2 separate regions of the Homo sapiens genome follow, and region 1 is linked to region 2. The links are contacts of gene promoters, found by promoter capture Hi-C in human tissues and cell types (Jung and others, 2019). All regions are on one chromosome and are shown on one strand. The core of a region is centred on a gene start or on the middle of the fragment in contact, and the rest is flanking DNA. Distances in the headings are between cores, read along the strand shown. Region 1 overlaps SUGP2 (SURP and G-patch domain containing 2). Region 2 holds the start of NR2C2AP (nuclear receptor 2C2 associated protein).

Region 1 (3,551 bases), core at 240-2,739, 200 kb before region 2:
TTAAACACCACACCTAGAGCCCAGACCACTGGCTGTTCTCTAGTCCCATTCAATTCTCAATGAGGATCATTCACAAGATGATGCCTGCCTCCATTCATCTCTCCTAAAATCATCTGCTTCCCCTCTAAAGTTACCTACAGCCTCCCATCTGCCCTCTCCCCTACAAAGAGGTATTTCAGCTTCAACCACCTGGCCCTTCTTTGAGTTTTCATAATGTTTTATATGGCTCCTGTGCTTATGCACGTGAATAAATATGTATAACTTTTTTGTTTCAAGACAGGATCTTGCTCTGTCACCCAGGCTGGAGTGCAGTGGCTCCATCATGGCTCACTGCAGTCTTGAACTCCCGGGCTCAAGTGATCCCCCTGCCTTGGCCTTCCAAAGTCCCGGGATTACAGGTGTAAGCCACCGCACACCTTTTTTTATCCTGTTAATCTTCTTATTGTCAGTTCATTTCAACAGGCTTAGACTTGGACCTTCAAAGGCGGAGGGAAATTCCCTTTGTTCTCTTCAGAGGCATCTCCGAGGGTATTATATAAAGTAGCTGTGTGTGTGTATGCATGTGTGTGTGCGTGTGTGTATGCATGTGTGTGTGCATATGCGTGCACATGTGTGTATCTTGTGTGTGTGCGTGAGTTACTGGATGCAGGCGGCCCCTCCATAATGGCATGAGGTGGTCTTGGTGAGGCGGTGTGGGCAGAAGTGTCTCTGCAGGGCAGTTAAGGAGGGGAGGTATGAAGGGAGGAGCTATGCTATGGGCTGGGACAGGAAGAGGGGCACAAACAGTGAAGAGACACCCCTGCAAACCAGGGGACACCAGACAGGACCTGCTACACTGGGGGGCCCCTTGCCATGAGAAAGTGGCCTGGAGAAAAGAGGTGACAGAACCCACCGGCTGAGATGAGAAACGGGGCATCCGTCAGGCCCTTCTGGGAGCTGTGCACGACCTGGGCCCTGGGATGACGGGTAGGGAAGGAAGGGGAAAGGCTGGTCATGGCAGGGCACAGGGGTCCCCAGAGGGCAGGTCTGTACTCTTTTCCCTTTCAGGAAGGCTGCTTGGAGGTGCAGTGGGAGGAAGAGGGTTTGGCTCAGCCTGGAAGTTTCTTCGTGAATGTTCAAATCTGTGTTTAACAATCATGATGGTGGTTTCCTGGACAGCTGGAGGAAAGCCAAGCCCTGTGGGCGAGGTGGAGGTTTGCAGAGGAAAGCTGCAGCCACCACGGCCTCCCTTCCACCCACAGTCACTGGCAGACAGGAGGACAGGTGCAGAGCCCCAAGGAGACAGCAGCATGTGCAGGACACCCACCAGGAACCGCGTTCAGTTTAATCCTCACTGTACCTCCTACCTGCTGGGTAAGTGTGGCCATCCCATTTTACAGACAAATCCGTGGCTCAGGGGTTACACGCCAAGGTTACAAAACTACTCGGTGGCAGGGCTGAGCTAGAGTACAGCTGTGCCTGACACCAAGGTCCTGCTGTGCCCTCATCTGGCCGTGCCCTTATCCAGGCCACACCAAGGGGCACCAGATGCCAGCTCAGCCTAAAACCTGGCACATCAGTAAGGACTATGAGCTCTGGACTCGGGAAGGTCCCTCCTTCCTGCCATAATTGGGGTCAGACTGACCTAGGTCACTCGGAAGGGGTTGGAAGCAACATGGCACTGCCTGACACCAGCAGAGCGATCTCGCCTGGCTCCCCGCCCTCCTCCCTGACCATGAAGGACTGGTGAAGTCTCTCCACATGTGTCCCAGGTGACCCTGCTTGCCCCCAGCACTGTGTCCCCCAGGCCATCTGGAGTGTACCTGCCCCCTTTCCATAACCTGGCTCCAGGTCAGTGAATGGCAGTTCTGTCCCTCTTCTGCCCAAGCTGACAACCCTGGGGTCATCTGGACTCCTGGCTTTTGCACACCCAGCCCACAAGCAGGTGTCACCCACTCCATCTTCTCCCCTTCTCATTGCTCCTCATGCCCTGGTCCAACTGTCTTAAGTTTGAGCCTCCTCCTGGTTCCCGCCCACAGGCTGCTCTCCACCCTAGTGGCCACATCCACCACAGGTCCCAGAGGTACCCTCCCTTCCCTGAGAAAGGGCCACAGCGTTAACATCTGTTGAGGTCCTGTGTGACCACCCCCCGGATTCCTCTGCTGCCACAAAGGCCTCTTGCTGCCCCAGCCTCTCTACCGAGGCTGTGCCCTTCTCAGATCTCTACACTGTTTCTCCTCAGCTCCTCCAGGCTTGTGCCAACGTCATCTGCAAGAGAGACCTCCCTTGGCTTTCCCAATTCAGCGGCATCCCCTCGACCCCACCTTATTCTCCCTCTCTTTGACCTGCTTCTCTTTGCCCACAGCATCCCCAGGACTGCCTCATCCATTTCTCTTTCACTGTTGGCCCTGCTTGCTGCTGCCTCCAGGTGGACAGTCGGGACCTGGCACGTAGGAGGTGCTGACCGCACACACCACGCTCTGCTTACTAGCAGATTAGTGAACTCTCTTCACCACCCTTCCAGTCTACTAAGCTTGTAAGTTTTTATGTTTTATTTTTTAAGGAGACCAGGAGGAGACATAGGTCTCACTATGTTGCCCAGGCTGGCCTCAAACTCCTGGGCTCAAGTGATCCCCCTGTCTTGGCCTCCCAAAGCACTGGGATTACAGGCGTGAATCAGTGCACCTGGATAACTTGAACTTTTTTTTTTTTTTTGAGACAGGCTCTCAGTCTGTCGCCCAAGCTGGGGTGCAGTGGTGCAATCAGCTCACTGCAGCCACGACCTCTCAGGCCCAAATGATCCTTCCACCTCAGCCTCCAGAGTAGCTGGGACTACAGGCATGCACCACCATGCCCAACTAATTTTTGTATTTTTTGCAGAGACAGGGTTTTGCCTATTGCCCAGGCTGGTCTTAAACTCTTGGACTCAAGCGATCTGCCCACTTTGGCCTCCTAAACTGCTGGGATCACAAGTGTAAGACACCCAATCGGCCTTAGCTTGAACTTCTTTTTTTTTTTTTTTTGAGACGGAGTCTCACTCTGTCGCCCAGGCTGGAGTGCAGTGGCGCGATCTCGGCTCACTGCAAGCTCTGCCTCCCAGATTCATGCCATTCTCCTGCCTCAGCCTCCTGAGTGGCTGGGACTACAGGCGCCTGCCACCATGCCCGGCTAATTTTTTGTATTTTTAGTAGAGACGGGGTTTCATCGTGTTAGCCAGGATGGTCTCGATCTCCTGACCTTGTGATCCACCCGCCCTCTGCCTCCCAAAGTGCTGGGATTACAGGCGTGAGCCACCACACCTGGCCTAGCTTGAACTTCTTAAGGGCCAAGACATTATCTCGTTTATCTCTCAAATCCCACTGCATCCATTACAGGGATCTCAACTATCCATTACACAGATGAATCACTAGTCTATGCTTTGGACAAAGGCAAAACAGTTTTCAAAAGCCCTCCCAAGAGAAAAGTCTCTGTTGTGTTTTACACATTAATACCTCAGTTTGAAATGTTAGCACAGCTTAATCACAAGCTGCAGCATCCTTTGGAACTCCAACAAATTCTAACCAACTATACTT
Region 2 (3,459 bases), core at 149-2,648:
ACTTCAGCAGCTGGTATGGGGAAAGTGTGAGCGTGGGCAGTCAAGGGAAACTGGTGATTTCTGGTTTCCCACCCGCAGGCCCCCACCCCTTCCAGACCCAGCTCACACTCCACCGATGTGGGCAACCTGGGGAAGCTGCAGGTCCCTCTAAGCCTCTCACACAGAACAGGTGGTCATCAGCACCATTTTACAGAAAAAGTGGAGTCCTAGAGGTCACGTGTTCAAGATCACACATCAGGGTTCCCATTCGGGTTTGGGTGAGTCCAAAGCTTCCAGAGGCACAGACCACCCACCCCAGAAGCAGGGGCAGGATATCTGAAGCGAGTTGTTGTCCTCAGGGTAGAAATCTACAATCTTGTGGAGAGCCTGAGTGCCCTGTGAACCTTCAGCAGAGAAAGGCAATGAGTGTCTGGGGTGACCCCTGGAACCCCTGCCACCCAGGGCCTTCTAGTACCTTCCAGGCAGCCCCGGCGACTGGAGAAGCCACCCTGAAACTGGATCTGCAGCTGGGAGACACGGATGAGCTGGGGAAACTCCAGCGTCACCCACTGGGAGGGGCCCTGGAAGCAGACAGGGAAACTGAGGCGCAAGCTCACTGCAGGCACAGAGCCCTGCTATGCCTGTCTCATTCACATAGTTCTTGGAATGGAGGGGAAGAAGGAAATTCGGCACATGTTCCTTTCCTGGCCACCCATGAGGGCCCCCTGACGTTCTCAAGGCATGAGATCTGAATCTGAATCACCCTAGAGATGGAGGGTCGAGGGAGGCGCCTCACCTGGTCTGAGTTCCAACATGTCTCCTCATCCTGGTCGAAAAGATGTTTTTTTCCAAACTGCCGAGTGTTGCGATTCAGCACTGAACTCACCCTGGAGGCACCAGGATCAAGGCGAAGAGAGGGGCTGAGACCAGCTCTCAGCTCCGCGGAGGGCCTGACCCCCAGATCTGTCCACTGAGGGCTCGACCCCAGGCTTAGGGCCTCGCCACTGCCTGTCCCCACAGACTCTTACCTGCTCACTGTCTCTGGACAAACCAAAGAGTGGGTCATGTCGGTTCCACAAGACCTCGCAGGGCTTAGGATTGGGCACAGCCTTGGTTCGAATCCCGGCGCCTCCTCAAGCTACAGGGCGGCGCGATCTTGGCTACGCCTTGGCCTGAACGTCCTCACCTGTAACTTGGGACGAGAACCGCCACTCCCTCGCCCACCCCAGTCCTAAATGTCGCCTCGATCAATCCCCTGCCGGAAAATTTGGGAGAGAGGATCAGGGAAACCGCCAATGCCCGGAGGCCAGGCCTTTCACAGGAAACAGATTTCCCGCGGGTTTCGGGGGCGGTGGCTTTTTGTGCGAGGCTGTTTCTCTGCGAATAGCTCTTGGAGCCAAATCTTGGGACCCGGAACCGCGTGGGCTTGGCGCATGCGTGTTGTAATTCAGGCGCCGACCGCGGACGCTCCAGAGGTGGGGTTTGGTTCGACCCCGCCCCTTCATGCTCGCTTCTTAAAGGGCCCGGGTTCGATGATTGAATTTACCTTGGTTCCCTTGAAGCTGTAGGGAAAAGGCTGGCTGCGCGCACGGGGCGCTGTCCCTCGGCGCCCGAAGGTGTAGAGCACTGATTTTGACTGATTTTGGAATCCGAAAGACTTCCTTTTTTTTTTTTTTTTTTTGAGGCGGAGTCTCACTGTCGCCCAGGCTGGAGTGCAGTGGCACGATCTCCGCTCACTGCAAGCTCCGCCCCCTGGGTTCACGCCGTTCTCCTGCCTCAGCCTCCCAAGTAGCTGGGAATACAGGCGCCCGCCACCACGCCCGGCTAATTTTTCGTATATTTAGTAGAGACGGGGTTTCACCGTGTTAGCCAGAATGGTCTTGATCTCCTGACCTCGTGATCCAGCCGCCGGGGCTTCCAAAGTGCTGGGATTACAGGCTTGAGCCACCGCGCCCGGCCTTTTTTTTTTTTTTTTTTTGAAGTGGGGTCTCACTGTCACCCAGGCTGGAGTACAATGGTGGGATCGCGGCTCTCTGCGACCTCTGCCTCCCAGGCTCCAGCAATCCTCCTACCCAGCTTCCCGAATAGTTGGAACTAGTAGGCGCGCGCCACCACGGCAGGCTATTTTGTTTGTTTGTTTGTTTGTTTGTTTTTTGGTAGAGATGAGGTTTCGCCATGTTGCCCAGATTGGTCTCGAACTCCTGGGCTCAAGTGATCCGCCCACCTCAGCCTCCCAAAGTGCTGGGATTACAGGCGTAAGCCACCGCGCCCGGCCAGAGAGACTTCCTATGACAATGTCTTTCTTCCTACTCTAACCTACTCTACCCTAACGGCTACCCTAACCTACTCTAACCTACTCTACCCTAACCACTAAATGCAGCCTGGGAATCCCCGAACTTCACTGCCTCCCGGAGGCCAAAGGCAGAGTTGTGGAAAAGGCCACGATGTTGGGAGTATCTGAAGTCCTCATCAACCCTTTTTGTTCTTGTTGGGACAGAGGAGCCCTGGCCTCCAAGTTTGTCTTTCCCAGAAAATGCTGCTGGGACGTCAAGGAAGGCTTCTTGGAGGAGGGAGCATGCGAGGTCGGGTGTTTTTTGTTGTTTCTGTTTTGTTTTGTTTCGAGACGGAGCCTCACTTTGTTGCCCAGGCTGGAGTGCAGTGGTGTGATCTCAGCTCACTGCAACCTCCGCCTCCCAGGTTCAAGTGATTCCCCTGCCTCAGCCTCCTGAGTAGCTGTGACTACAGGTGCGCACCACTATGCCTGGCTAATTTTTGTATTTTTAGTAGAGATGGGGTTTCGCTATCTTGGCCAGGCTGGTCTCGAACTCCTAACCTCGTGATCTGCCCGCCTTGGCCTCCCAAAGTGCTGGGATTACAGGTGTGAGCCACCGCACCCAGGCTGTGAGGTGGGTTTTGAAGCATGAACAGGAGTTTGCCAAACAAAGCCTCAGATACCAAGCTGAAGATTTGGTTCACTGATTCACTAGACACCTCCTGCAAGCTCTACTGTCACACTGTCATGTCCAGCCTTCTGCTGGATGATGCTGGGGACAGCAAGAGGCCTCAGCTCCAGGCCTGTCCCAGAGGAGCCCCTGATCTGGGCAAGACAGAGGTAGACATAGACACTCCTAGCCCCAAGGGAGAGATGGGGCCGGAGGAGCAGGGGCTCTACCTGGAGGAAGGGCTTCCTGGGAAAGGGGATGTTAGAACTGCACCTTAATAGGGGGTCAGGCGCCAGGAATTCACAAGGGTGAGAAAATCTGGAGTGGGGAGGGTGTCCCAGGCAGGGAGCTTAGCATAAGCCAAGGCCTAGTTGGGTGAAAGACCATGAATTTGAATAAAATATGTGGAGCCACATCCTGCTGGGCCCGGAGCAGTCATGGAAGGTGTTGGAGAAAGGGCAGGACACCATCCGTTCTGCATGAATGGAGGGTTCCAAGACAGAGCAGCCACTGGCAAGAGGCTGTTGTTCCTGGCTTT

The links. Contacts are between HindIII fragments. The study calls those that stand out against the background at their distance.
Region 1: a contact is called between a fragment that was not itself captured here and the fragment with the promoter of NR2C2AP in region 2, in 1 of the 25 tissues and cell types used here (dorsolateral prefrontal cortex).

What each region holds. Positions count from the first base shown.
Region 1 is chr19:18,998,032-19,001,582 of GRCh38, forward strand. All of the region lies in intron 8 of SUGP2 (SURP and G-patch domain containing 2), which reads right to left. Among named protein-coding and RNA genes, the nearest start is that of SUGP2, 34 kb to the right of the region's middle. The HindIII fragment of the contact is 7,801 bases long and covers 1-3,551 here.
Region 2 is chr19:19,202,016-19,205,474 of GRCh38, forward strand. NR2C2AP (nuclear receptor 2C2 associated protein) reads right to left here and starts at 1,399. Exons shown (of 5, transcript NM_176880.6): 1 at 1,008-1,399; 2 at 776-866; 3 at 455-560; 4 at 316-383; 5 at 1-26. The coding sequence starts at 1,045. RefSeq lists a silencer at 375-641 and an enhancer at 1,305-1,599. The HindIII fragment of the contact is 14,823 bases long and covers 1-3,459 here.